Regions from separate parts of the Homo sapiens genome. Here region 1 is linked to region 2. The links are contacts of gene promoters, found by promoter capture Hi-C in human tissues and cell types (Jung and others, 2019). All regions are on one chromosome and are shown on one strand. The core of a region is centred on a gene start or on the middle of the fragment in contact, and the rest is flanking DNA. Distances in the headings are between cores, read along the strand shown.

Region 1 (6,856 bases), core at 3,799-6,298, 260 kb after region 2:
AGACTATACCGAGTTTAACAAGTCATCTGTTTTTGTGCCTGTCTGATGATAGTTGTTGGTACGACGGGGGAGATGTTAAAATGTTTTTGGAGATAGGTGATCTGTGGTGATGGAGACAAGACAGAAAGAATAGTGTGAGCTGGATTGTGTGCTATGGTATGGTTTATTCAGGGAGGATGGGACTATGGGGCAATTAGGAAGGAGGCAATCATGGAAAAAATGCTTGGCAAGAAAGACAAGAATGAACAAGGATACTATGCTGAGGAGTTAGAGCTTTATTCTCTATGCAGAGGGGAGCCACTGTAGGGTTTTCTTTTTCTCCTTGGACTCCAATTACACTTATGTTAGATGGTTCGATATTATCTCACCTCTTTTGGATGCTTCATTTTATCTTCCTCTTTGTGATTCACTTTGAGTAACTGTTGACTTATCTTTAAGTTCACTGATTCTTTGCTCAGCTGGGAGCAGTCTGTTGATGAGCCTATATTGTTTTCATACATGATATTATATTTTTCATTTCCATTTGACTTTTTCCTTTAATTTCCATCTCTCTGCTGAAATCCCTCATCTGCTCAGACACACTGTTTATCTTTTCCAACAGCACCGTTCACATGCTGTTATTTTAAAGCCCATATCTCATTATTCCAACATCTGGGTCCCCTCTGAGGCTTGTCCTGCTGATTGTTCTATTACTTGACAATGTGTTTTTTTGTTTTGATTTTTTTTTTTTTTTTGAGATGGAGTCTCGCTTTGTCACCCAGGCTGGACTGCAGTGGTACAATCTCAGCTCACTGCAACCGCCGCTTCAGCCTCCTGAGTAGCTGGGATTACAGGTACCCACCACCACACCTGACTAATTTTTGTATTTTTAGTAGAGATGGGGTTTCACCATGTTGCCCAGGCTGATCTCGAACTCCTGACCTCAGGTGATCCACCCGCCTCAACCTCCCAAAGTGCTGGGATTACAGGCATGAGCCACTGTGCCCAGCCCTTTTCTTTCCATGTCTGAAAATTTTGGATTGAATGCCAGACATCATTTGCAGAGAAACAGTAGAGACTGAGGCACATGGTTATCACTCCTGGAGATGGGTACTCTCTTCTTTTGTCAGGCCACTGCCATGGGAAGCTAAGTCAACCTAATGAATAACTGAGCTGGGTTTTGGCTTTATTGTCACTATATTTACTTTGTGTTCCACAGTCTTCAAATAATTCCTCCAATGGAAGGATGCTGTTACCTTATGCTTAGTGGAGGCCTAGGTTACCAGTGGATTTTTCTCAGTGTTTATACTCTGAGCTTTCAGCAGCCCCTACACACACACCTGTGCCACAGAGGGGTTCTCTCCCCACACTGTAGATTGCTATTACTTACTCCATGCTAGAGTTGTGGGGCAACGGGACATTTTCAGTTCTCCTGCTCCAGCTGCAATCCTAAGCATGACCTATGCTTCTGGGCCTTGGGGTGAGATGATCTTCCCCATATCCCCCAACTCATCCCCCAGCATGCCTTGTACCTGTGGCAAATCTTAGCCAGAAGAACATTTCCTACCCCTCACTAAGAAGTAAGGGATATTTCTCTGGGGCCTGCAAGAGAGAGTGAGTTTGCTGACCCACCGAGTGCCTTGAGACATTTGCACCAGAAGGTTGAAAGTAGGTGGGTTACATAGTAAGACTTGTTTTAGATGTGTCATCCCTATAGAAATATCAAAAATGGGCAAGGGGTGAAAAGACTGGTTCGGGGCAGAAAGACTAGCAATGAGGCAAGAGTCAAAGCAAATATAAGGAAGGCCTAGCAGATGTTTTAGTACTTACTATGTGTGAAGTACTATACTAAGTGCTGTGTATATATCTGAAATCTCATGTAATGCAACTACTCCATAAGGAAGATTTTTATTAGCCCACTTTTACAGATGAGATGAGAAACTAAAGCTCAGATGGCTCAGGCAACTTGTCAGATTCAAACCCAAGTCTCCCTGATGCTAAAACCTGTACTGCTCTCCAGCCATGATCACCACTTCTCTGTGGTGGTGGCCACTACTCTGCTGTGATCCAGTGGATAGAAGGGAGCAGACAGCTGTGAGATGTTAAAGAGGTAAAATGCACAGGAGCTGGCCACTGATTCAAAAAGGAGGTTGCAGAAACAGGGAAATATAGAGGAAGACTCTCCAGTTTTTGGCTTGAGTGGATGTATGACTGGCAGTCCGCGAAAAGAGAGGAAGATGGGGAAGCCGCTTTTGATCGTATCAAGTTTAAAATGCCTGTGGGACAGCCTGATGGAGATGTCAGAAGGCAAAGGCAGAGAGAGTACAAAGAGAAATGGCTGCAGGGGTCCTGGACTCTTGTTAGCCAGGGCCCTTTGTCCTTCTCATGTGCTGTGAGCTAATGAGGTGTTCTTTGATTACAGGCTCACCAGGACCAAAGGGAAGCCCAGGCTTCCCCGGTATGCCAGGCCCTCCTGGGCAGCCCGGCCCACGGGGCTCAATGGGACCCATGGGACCATCTCCTGATCTGTCCCACATTAAGCAAGGCCGGAGGGGCCCTGTGGTCAGTATCTTATCAGAGATCCACTTCCTTTTTGGGGGAAAATGTGTTTTTGTCCCATGCTTTTGCCTGTGGTTAAACCAGATCCTTTTGTATTACAGGGTCCACCAGGGGCACCAGGAAGAGATGGTTCTAAGGTAAGCCTTATGAGTGGTCCTCACAAGCTAAAGGTCTCTCACTTTCGATTTTTTTGTTTTGTTTTGTTTTTGTTTTTTGAGATGGTCTTGCTCTGTCACCCAGGCTGGAGTGCAATGGCACAATCTTGGCTCATTACAGCCTCTGCCTCTCTGGCTCAAGCCCAATTCTCCCGCCTCAGCCTCCCAAGCAGCTGGGACCACAGGTGTGCACCACCACTCCCGGCTAATTTTTGGATTTTTCTTTTTTTTTCTTTTTGAGACAGAGTCTCACTCTGTCACCCAGGCTGGAGTGCAGTGGCACGATCTCAGCTCACGGCAAGCTCCACCTCCCGAGTTCACGCCATTCTCCTGCCTCAGCCTCCCGAGTAGCTGGGACTACAGGCGACCGCCACCACACCTGGCTAATTTTTTTGTATTTTCAGTAGAGACAGGGTTTCATCGTGTTAGCCAGGATGGTCTCCATCTCCTGACTTCGTGATCCGCCCACCTCGGCCTCCCCAAGTGCTGGGATTACAGGCGTGAGCCACCACACCCGGCCTAATTTTTGGATTTTTTAGTAGAGACGGGGTTTCGCCATGTTACCCAGGCTGGCCTTAAACTCCTGACCCCAGGTGATCTGCCCGTCTCAGCCTCCCAAAGTGCTGGTATTACAGGTGTGAGGCACCGCTCCCGGCCTGAAGGTCTCTCACTTTCTACCTCTTGCACTGACATCCAGGAAAGCTCACCAGACACTGTTTACCAACCCCATTTTGCATGCAGCAGAAGTGAGACACAGATACCAGATAGAACTTTTTCCCCAAAGCTGGGAACAAAATCTGAAAAGCCATTGTCTTCAATTCCAAAACCAACCCCAAAGACAAAAACAACCACCACAACCACTCATAGGAAAAGTGACCCCTGTAAATTTTAAATGAGCCTCTGTGTTGTGATTCTCACATGTGTTTTTCTCTTTAACCAGTGTTGCTTTACGGGATAGCTTTTTGTGTGTTTCCATTTCTGTGAGATTTCTCAGGAACAGGAGATGCTCCATTCTTTTTGCAAGCAGGGTGGTTCCCCTCTGAGAGCTGCCTGCTCTTTTTTGCCTCACAAAGAAGTCAGTGTGAGTTACTTCAGAAAGTTTGTTACTCCACATGCTGTTGGGAAATATGAACATTCCTCTTGCCAAGAAGGTTTGAAAATAGATGGGCTTGAGGGAAATCAGAATGAGAGACACTTGACCCAAGCAGTCCTGTTCAAATAAGTGGTCCCGTGAGTCCAGCTCAGTTTTACATATGTTTTCTATAGAAAATGTTTATTGTTTTGTGCAGGGAAGTGGTTATGGTGGGTGTATAAATAGAGACTATTCTTGTGATATCCATGTGCTCTAGAAAGCTAACCCTGGCCTTTCTGTTTTTAGGGGGAGAGAGGAGCGCCTGGGCCCAGAGGGTCTCCAGTAAGTAGCACTCTGTGTCCTGCTTCCCCAGGGGAACGTTCTCAGGGATGCAGCTCTGATGAGCCTATAGGTTGGTCTAGTAGCAAAAGCCCGCCCCTTCCTGATGCCACTCAGCCCACCTGAACAGAACTCTGTGGTTAGGAAGAGAGTCATAGAAGCCCTTAGCTGCTAGTTTGGATTTATTTTTCAAATTTGTTTTCTGTTGCTGTTTTCTCTTTTATCATGGCTAATCTTTATTTGAAATGTCTTTCCTAAAGCTCAAAACCCTGCTATGCCATGAGTCTGTTTCCAAGTATTATCATAAAACATTTGAAAGGTCTAGGAAGGAAATCTATGGGTTTAAATCATAACTCTGCGTACTTGAGAATTTAGCCACTGCTGCAACCCTAGCAGGCCAGATGGCCATCTCCTCTTAAAAAGTGCAAAACCACGCAGGGCTGTTTAGGACCTGAGAAGAAATTAGCTGCATATAAGCATAGTATCTGGGAGATTAAAAATGAGAAATAGTAGTATTCAAAAGCATAGAAAATTCAAACCACGTCACTGCTTCTGAAGAAGTATCATTTCTGAAATCCAGCGGCTGTGGCCACAGAGGTAGGAGTCGTGGGTTCCCATCTCAACTCTTCTACCTGCTGGCTTTCTGACCACGGGCACTTCACTGAGGGTCTCTGGGCATTCTTGCCCCCCACTGTGCAGTGGCGATAGTGGAATCTGACCTGCCATCCCTGAAGTGGCTACTGTGAGGGTCAAATGATATGAAAATACTGTGCCTCTCTTAGTGCTTTACGGTGTAAGCTCTGCTTCCACGGTGCCCGCTGCTGTAGCAGCAGTTGCGGGAGATGATAACGATTTTACTACAAGCTTCTGACAAGCCCAGAACATGCGTGTTTGTGCATTTCTTTTTTACCATGCCCCACACAGCGCTATATGAAATTAAGGCTTAGTAAATACTATATGATGATAAAGGATACTCAATACATAGAAAAATTAGGAAGATTTTGTTTGGACCTTTCCTAGTCAACGAGGAGTTGACGTCTTTACAACATCCTCTCAACTTCATTTAGTTTGTGCTTATAGTCAGCCATCTTATAAACATTTTAATAATTTTGCTTTTAAAAAATAACAGCATTGTTTTTTTTGAGACAGGGTCTCACTCTGTCACCCAGGCTGGAGTGCAGTGGCACAATCTTGGCTCACTGCAGCCTCGACCTCTTGGGCTCAAGTGATCCTCCCACCTTAGCCTCCCAAGTAGCTGGGTCCACAGGTGCCCACCACCACACCTGGCTAAATTTTTGTTAAATTTTTGTAGAGACAGGGTTTCACCATGTTTTCCAGGTTGGTCTTGAACTCCTGGGCTCAAGCTATCCATCCACCTCGGCCTCCCAAAGTGCTAGGATTATAGGCGTGAGCCACCACACCTGGCCCAGATAACATTTTTGAATACGTATTATGCTCAAAGCCCTTTACACGTATTTACTTGCTTAAATCCTCACTTATGAATCCTACAAAACCCTATGAAGTTGGGACTATTATTATCCCCGTTTTACAGATGGGGAAACTGAACCACAAGAAATTAAGATGACACAGCTAGTAAGCGGCAGAGATGAGATTCAAATCCAACAGAACCCCAGTCTCTTAACCACTGCTCTGCTGCCTTCATAAGCATCTTCCAGACTGCTTTGGAAAGTAACCTAGGAGAGTTATTCTTATATCCTTTCCTCTACTGGATTTGATAAAGCGTTAGGAGGGAGGAAAGGTGAATACATCACCAAAGCTCAGCTGAGAAGTGACAGAATTAGAAAACAATATGGAGGACCCCCAGGCTCCTGTAGCAGTCCTCACATTGGCTCCATTTGGGGCACAGAGTTATTGAGAAAGTAGTTGCCAGCAAGCAGCAGGTCAAGTCATGGAGCCCCGGAGGCCATTGCTGTCTGTCGTATTCTAGCTTTGATTCCTCCCATGTACACAGGGACCCCCTGGTTCTTTCGACTTCCTGCTACTTATGCTGGCTGACATCCGCAATGACATCACTGAGCTGCAGGAAAAGGTGTTCGGGCACCGGACTCACTCTTCAGCAGAGGAGTTCCCTTTACCTCAGGAATTTCCCAGCTACCCAGAAGCCATGGACCTGGGCTCTGGAGATGACCATCCAAGAAGAACTGAGACAAGAGACTTGAGAGCCCCCAGAGACTTCTACCCATAGCACATCCCAACACCGTCACGCCAAAGGAAGAGAAAGATCAACTCACCTGCAGTTAAACCATCTAAAGAGAAGAAAGACCACTGGAGACCTAGAAAACATACATTTTTCTCTTCTCTTCTCCTGACGTCTCTCCACTCCTCTTCTTCCAAATACGATGCTATTTTCAGAGTCCCCTCCTAGGCCTGCAGACATGAGGGAGTGAATGATTGATTTACCTGCTTCTCACTAAGAGTCCATTGGGGTGGTTTGCATTGTAACTTTTCTTTTACATCCTATTTTTCCAGGAACTTTGGATTTAAGTACTCTCACAGTGTCTTAAATCATAAATTCTTGAAGTTAAATTTGGCAGAGTATCAAAAGGGGGAAAATGACAAAGTGAGCTCTAAGAAAATGTGAGGCTACTTCTAAGATGTGTGTTCACAATAGACCATAACTCCTCTAGTATCAAAATTGGGGCTCTTCAGTTAAAAAGGGGTGGGGAGGACAAACGTGTCGATGTGCTTTGGTGGAGAATTTTTTCCTTGTGCTTCTAGTAGACTTTAAATA
Region 2 (6,607 bases), core at 1,590-4,089:
GGACAAGCAACTCCTCACTGCACCCCATGCTGTCAGTAGCTGGCAGTAGGTTGAAATTACAGGCCTCTAGGCAAAGGTTTTTCAGAAGGTTTCGGCTCCAGATCACCTCTTACAGAAATGTATGAAATGCTCTGACCACCCACCGTTGGGATTTCCTCCCTGTGCAAACCTGAGCTGTTTGCTGGGCCCCAGCAACTTCTCTAACCCCTTATTCTCATAGGCACTCAGCACCAGGAGCTGAAAATAAAAAGGTGGCAAAGTCAGCTCTGATGCCAATCTTCTGCCACACAGCTGTGTATAATGGTTTTGCTGTTATCATTTTGCAGCCTGAATCACTTTCCCTGAAATGCTGCAGGTCTGCACTTGTGGCCTAGTAACTATTTAATGAAACTGATAATTAATCTCCTATACCACGCTCTGTTACTTGTAGAACTAACGTCCACAATGCAACAGTAGAAGAATAAAATGCGTAAAGATGAGAAAAAAGACAGCAAGTTGTCAAGATACAGTAATTGGTAAGGAATTAAAAATAGAACCTCCTACCAGATTACAAGATGGCCTCTCCCTTCCAAGATGGATATCAAACACTTTTTTGTCACAATCTGAAGAGATACAATTATCATAAGCCCCAGAAGGGGTTTCTTCCTCATGTGCTTAGTGAGGTCTGTCTTTAGGAACCCAAACAACTGTTATAAAGTGGATTCCTATATATCTAGGAAGTGAAAAGCTAGAAGGCTAGAAGGCAAAAACTTAAAGTTCTGTGCAATACAATAATTACGTTACAAGTAATAATGTTTACAGGGCACTCAACATATGCCAGGCATGATAAACAAAATGCTATAGAAGCATTGCTTCATTTAATACTCATAAAAATTGATGAGAGATATTTCCCCATTTTACAGATGAGAAAACAGAGTGTCAGAAGTAAATTGCTTCAGATCACTCCTCCAGGAAACCAAACAGCCTGAGTTTGAATCCAGTTTTTTCTGACCTCATGGTTTTTTTTTTCTGACCTCATGATGATCACTCTCCAGTTTTGCAACATCCTGAAATGTCTTCTGAATTATCAAATAAAAATTAACTCATTTGTGTTAAGTAGCAGTGTCATATTTTAATATCAAGTGGGTGGTCTTCCGAATATGTAAGTTTTGTAAAATAAGCCAACAAAAAACACACCTCACAGAACTAAGAAATCAGATGCTCAGATTGAAGGGATATTGTGGGAACCAAATAAAATCTTGAATATGAAAAATCTTAGGAAAAGACATAGCATTCTACGGAAGAATGACAATGTCATTGCTATCAAAAATATCAGTGTGGGCTGGCTGCTATGGCTCACGCCTGTAATCCCAGCACTTTGGGAGGCCGAGTTGGGCAGATCACTTGAGGCCAGGAGTTTAAGAGCAGCCTGGCCAACATGGTGAAACTCTGTCTCTACTAAAAATACAAAAATTAGCCGGGTGTGGAAGCATGCATCTGTAATCCCTGCTACTTGGGGTGCTGAGGCAGAAGAATCTCTTGAACCCGGCAGGCGGAGGTTGCAGTGAGCCAAGATCGAGACACTGCACTCCAGCCTGGGCGACAGAGTGAGACTCCGTCTCAAAAAAAAAAAAAAGTCAATGTGTATGTGATATGTGTGGTAATTCTCAGTTGACCAGCATATTCTGTATATCAAAATATGTGCTTACCTAACCAATTTACACACCGGTCACTTGTGAACAAGCCACCTTTTTACCTCGTTGTCCTGTGAGATGCAGAACCACGCATATTTTAGAGCTTAGGCATTAGAACTTTTCCTTTTTCAACTTATTTCTGGGCCACATCCACGTCCCCAGTTTCTCTGGAAAAGGCTGAGAAAACTCCTAAAGCGCAACAAAGTGTTAAGTTGCTGACACACGAATTACAATTAGGGTCACCGTCAAGGGAGCCGATTTACGGCCCCCCTCCTCCGTTTTCTTGTTACCTATCAACGCGGCTGCATACACTAGCAGGTAGCAGCACCTGTAATTAATTTGCCCCCACGTGTCTCATTTGATGGGGGGGGGCGTTTCCAGCTCTGATGTGCGCGGCGTGGAAACAGTATTAAAGCCGCTCAGGACAAGGAGATGTAAGGCTCCCAGAAAGACCTCCTTACTTGTTCCGAACTCGAGTTATGAAGAAGACAGCGCATGGTTTATTGACCAATGAAACAACCAGAGAACTTTCTTCTAAAGGTTTTAAGGAAGAGTGATTACACTATATAAATAGCGCTATTTCAGGTTTGAACAATTTGAGAGGCCCGTTGTAGCCTTTCAACTCCTCCTTCCTCACATAATCTAAGAGAAAAGAAGACTAAGATAGTTGCAAATCTCAGGGTAGGTCCTCACGGAGGAAAGACGAACACTGGCCTGACCCTGGGCTTTAGAAACCCATGGACAACAGGAAGGAAGCTTATTAACCCCTCTCTTCCCCCTCCCTCTTCTCCCCGGTGGAGAATCAGCTCCTCCTCCTCCCGGTCGTGAGACCCTGGTGCAAAATGCAAACAACCGCCCGCTTTCCCCACCCTGCGCGCTTCTCCCAGAGGAGGGAGAGGGAAGAGGCGAGGGCGCAGCCCCAAGCCGAGTCCAGCAAGTCTGTCAATCGGACGTGAACGTCCCGACGAGACAACTTGAACCTCAGGGCCCTCGCGCCAGCCGGACACCGCAGGTACCCCCTTTACCTGCTTCTCTGCTGGGTTTGCATCCGATACCCCAACTCCTAGCCTCATTTTCCCCCCAGCCCCATAATATTCCGGACCCCTGCTCCCCGTGCAGGTGGTGCAAACGCCCCTGCTCTCCGGCGCCCCCTGCCGGGAAGAGGGAAGGCGGCGGCGGCCGCGGAGGAGCAGGACGCTTGGTCCGGACGGAGCTCGGCGCTGGGAAGAAGCCGGGAGCTTCCCTGATGGTGCCGCCGCCTCCGAGCCGGGGAGGAGCTGCCAGGGGCCAGCTGGGCAGGAGCCTGGGTCCGCTGCTGCTGCTCCTGGCGTTGGGACACACGTGGACCTACAGAGAGGAGCCGGAGGACGGCGACAGGTAAGCGCTGCAAGCCCCAGCGGAGGGCGAGCTCCTGCTTGATGCGCGCCCGGCTCGCGGGGTGCGGGCGGTCCTCCCCGGCGCCCACTCCCACAGCGATCCGCACGCCCTCACTTCTCCGGGGATAAGGAGAGTGCTCAGCTGTCCTGGGCGACACTTCCCTCCGCTCCCGGGTATCAGCCTTTGCGCCCTGCCATCCGTGGGTCGCGTCAGGGATACCCTTCGCCCCGCGTTCCTGCCTCCCCCCGGGTGCCACACTGGCTGGCACAGCTCGTGAACCCCGCTTCCTTTCTCCTGGAGCTGGTTCGCTTCGTCGTGACCCTCGCGTGGCTCGTCCCTGTGGCCGGAGTCTGCCCCGCGTACGCGTTTGGGGACCAGCCCCTGCCCAGAGCGCCGGGACGGGGAGCCTGGCGATCCCCACGCGCCAGGGATTCCCCAGCGCGCGCTGCCCGCCTCCGCTCTCCCGCTGAGAATCGAACATTTCCTCTGCACTTTTTCATAGAGAAATCTGCTCAGAGAGCAAAATCGCGACGACTAAATACCCGTGTCTGAAGTCTTCAGGCGAGCTCACCACATGCTACAGGTAAGCCTGGGGGCTCTGCGGGCTGTTCGCCACTGCGCACCGGGGCTGGCTGGGGAGGCGGCGCTGTAAAGGAGGGGTTTGGAGACGCGCTTGGGACCGGAGCAGCTTTTACGCTGGAACCTGCTGGGTGCGTGCCGCGCGGTGCGAATCTTTGAGGGTTGGTTGGATCGGAGTCAGAGCAACACTGAGCAACTGACTTTGCGTCTAGGGTGTGTGCCCTGAGATCCTGAGGATGGTTGCCGCTCCCTGAAATACTTGTGTGGAAGTCTGTGAAGGAGATTGGATTGGATTTTGGGTGTAAACAGTGGGGCATAGCAAACACGGGTGGCTGCTTTCGTATTTGTGTTTTGTTTTGAAAGTACAGCGTCAACAAGGCAATTCTTGGCACTTGTCTGTCTTCTGACCTTCTGTTGGGGCAGAGTGTGGCTGTCACGGCCTCTGGACAAAAAAGTAGGGGGAGGATTGTGAGTGGTTGTGTTGAGTGAAAACAAAAAGATTGTTGGGGCAGAGGAAAAAAGTCTTTCTAAAAATGTGGGCCACAGATTCACCTGGGTATTTGTTAAATGAGTGACCCGGGTGCTTGTTAAAACTAAGCGTGGATGGGGCTAGGGAATCGGTAGTTATAAAATGTTCCCCAGGTGGTTCTTGTCTCTGAAAGGAGAGAACCACTGTTCTGCTTGCAGCCTTTTGGAGATGAGGGTTGATTTAGGTTTTTCACCATTGAATTCTTGGTTCTGTTCCAGTGCTCTCACTGGATAGGGGAACATGCACCCATAAACGTTTATTGGATATCTGCGTTTTAGAGGCGCTGTACAAGGTAATGTGATCATATGCCCACACCTGACTGTCTCTGGAGACTCACATGCTCTGTTCGGGTTGCCAGGATAAATACTGAGTAGTACAAGGTAACGCAGCAGTCCCTAGAAACGAACTTGAAAGAAAACAATGTTTTATTCCTTATAAGGTTGTAGCCTGTGAATCAATCATAGCGTTTCTTGCAGGTGAGAGCATTTCATATACCCAAAGGTTCAGACCAAGTGGTTCCACGGCTGTCAGTTTATGGGTGCAAAAGCACCATCAGTTACATCGCGTACTTCTGCTCTTAAATCTGTTGTTGGCAGTGAAGGGACAATAATCAGGCAAATCAAGTCACTCCTTGGGCTTAGGAAAGGCTCCTTTCTCTTGGCGTGTGCGGGGGGTGAATGCTGAACAAAATGAGAGAGGTAGTAGAGGAGAAAGGAGTATGTTCAATTGGCAGGTTAAGACTTAAAGAGGCTAACTGGGTGAGCAAGGTCACCGAGCTGGTGAAGTGACCTGGTGGTGCTGGCAGCAGGATTGCTTGCCTGGTTCCAGCCGTGTCTTTCATCCACACGACCACAGTGTTTCTTAGGACACATTGTTTTCCTATCAGCACAGTATAAAGCCTCGAATTTAACATGGGAAATGTCTCTGAGATGGTTTGCTCATTTTTTCAGTCCCTGAAGGTCGGACTTCACATAAATCAGTGACAGTTACAGAATGCATGTTAGATTTTCAGAAACCATTTGGTGCCTGATTGTTTGTTAATGCCATTACTGTCATCTTTTCCAGACTTCTTAAAGCAGTGTGGTGTTTCTTTTATACTCTTTGAACAGGAGACACTAGCAGCACCTTGGCATGTGTTTTCACTAATAGCTACTCAAATTGCTATGAGATCTCGCAAAAATGACATTTTATATCAAGGAGAATAAAGAACTTTGTTTAAAGGAATGGGAAACGATGCTTTCAGCTTGAAAGTGGTGTTGATCCTTGTGTATATGAAAAGATCTTAGATTTTGTTTTTAGATCTATTTTCTCTATGGAAGTCGAGAGTTCTCTGTATTCCGTTGGTCTTATCCTGTTTCTATAATCTACTCTTCTTGAATCCCAAGAATAGAGGATATTATTTTCCTTAGTTTGTGACTTGATTGTCCTAGCCCTTTATACCCTCACTACCTCAAGTATCATCTGGAAACCAGCCGCACAGCATGATTTTGGGAGCTTGTTGGAATCCTGGGCCTCTGCCCCCAGATCTCTTAAATCAGAATCTGTCTTAATGAGAGATGCATAAAATCTTGAAGCACTGCTGTAAGAAACCAGTGTCCTCATCCCCAGGACGCATGCAGACCTATTTAGACAGATCCTTAAAGGAGCATGGAGGCCTTTCAGTTGACCAAACAGTTAGCTCTCCTACCTCACTAAACTAAAGGTTAAACTAAAGTGAGATAAAGAACCAGCATTCCAGGAAGCCAGTCTTTAAAGGTTACTTTGAATTGAGCTGTAAGTAATACAGCATTACTGATGATGGAATGTTCTTTGACTGTATAGAATTCTCTTTACCAGGTGGCTGTTGGTGAATGGTTTTCAGCACAAGTGAAGGAACTCTGGAAGCCACTTCTGAACTTGAAGTGTGTTTAAAAATGACTTTAAAAAAGTTACTAGGCCGGGTGCGGTGGCTCATGCCTGTAATCCCAGCACTTTGGGAGGCGGAGGTGGGTGGGTCATGAGGTCAAGAGATCGAGACCATTCTGGCCAACATGATAAAACCCCGTCTCTACTAAAAATACAAAAATTAGCATGGTGTGGTGGCACACACCTGTAGTACCATCTACTTGGGAGGCTGAGGCAGGAGAATAGTTTGAAACCAGGAGGCGGAGGTTGCAGTGAGCTGAGATCTCGCCACTGCATTCCAGTCTGGTGACAGAGCAAGACTCTGTCTCAAAAAAAAAAAAAAAAAAAAAAAAAAGGCTTTCCTTTAACAAGAAATATTCTCGTGTGTAGGAAACACTAATAAAACAATTTTCACTGAGGCTGTGGAATAAACATCCTAATCAACCCTTGACTTCTTAATTAAGAATCTATTGTGCATCTATTACGAGCTCAGAAAAGTCCTAGAAAATGTTTGAGTATAAAACGATAAAATACAATCTCTGGTCTCAGTTTGCAGACTTGATTT

What was found. Contacts are between HindIII fragments. The study calls those that stand out against the background at their distance.
Region 1: a contact is called between a fragment that was not itself captured here and the fragment with the promoter of CCBE1 in region 2, in 2 of the 25 tissues and cell types used here (aorta and thymus).

Annotation. Positions count from the first base shown.
Region 1 is chr18:59,435,362-59,442,217 of GRCh38, reverse strand. CCBE1 (collagen and calcium binding EGF domains 1) reads left to right here. Exons shown (of 11, transcript NM_133459.4): 8 at 2,402-2,541; 9 at 2,640-2,675; 10 at 4,072-4,107; 11 at 6,077-6,856. The coding sequence ends at 6,310. Among named protein-coding and RNA genes, the nearest start is that of LMAN1, 80 kb to the right of the region's middle. The HindIII fragment of the contact is 7,625 bases long and covers 1,236-6,856 here.
Region 2 is chr18:59,693,655-59,700,261 of GRCh38, reverse strand. It overlaps CCBE1 (collagen and calcium binding EGF domains 1), which reads left to right and starts at 2,839. Exons shown (of 11, transcript NM_133459.4): 1 at 2,839-3,050; 2 at 3,553-3,633. The coding sequence starts at 2,920. The HindIII fragment of the contact is 11,314 bases long and covers 1-6,607 here.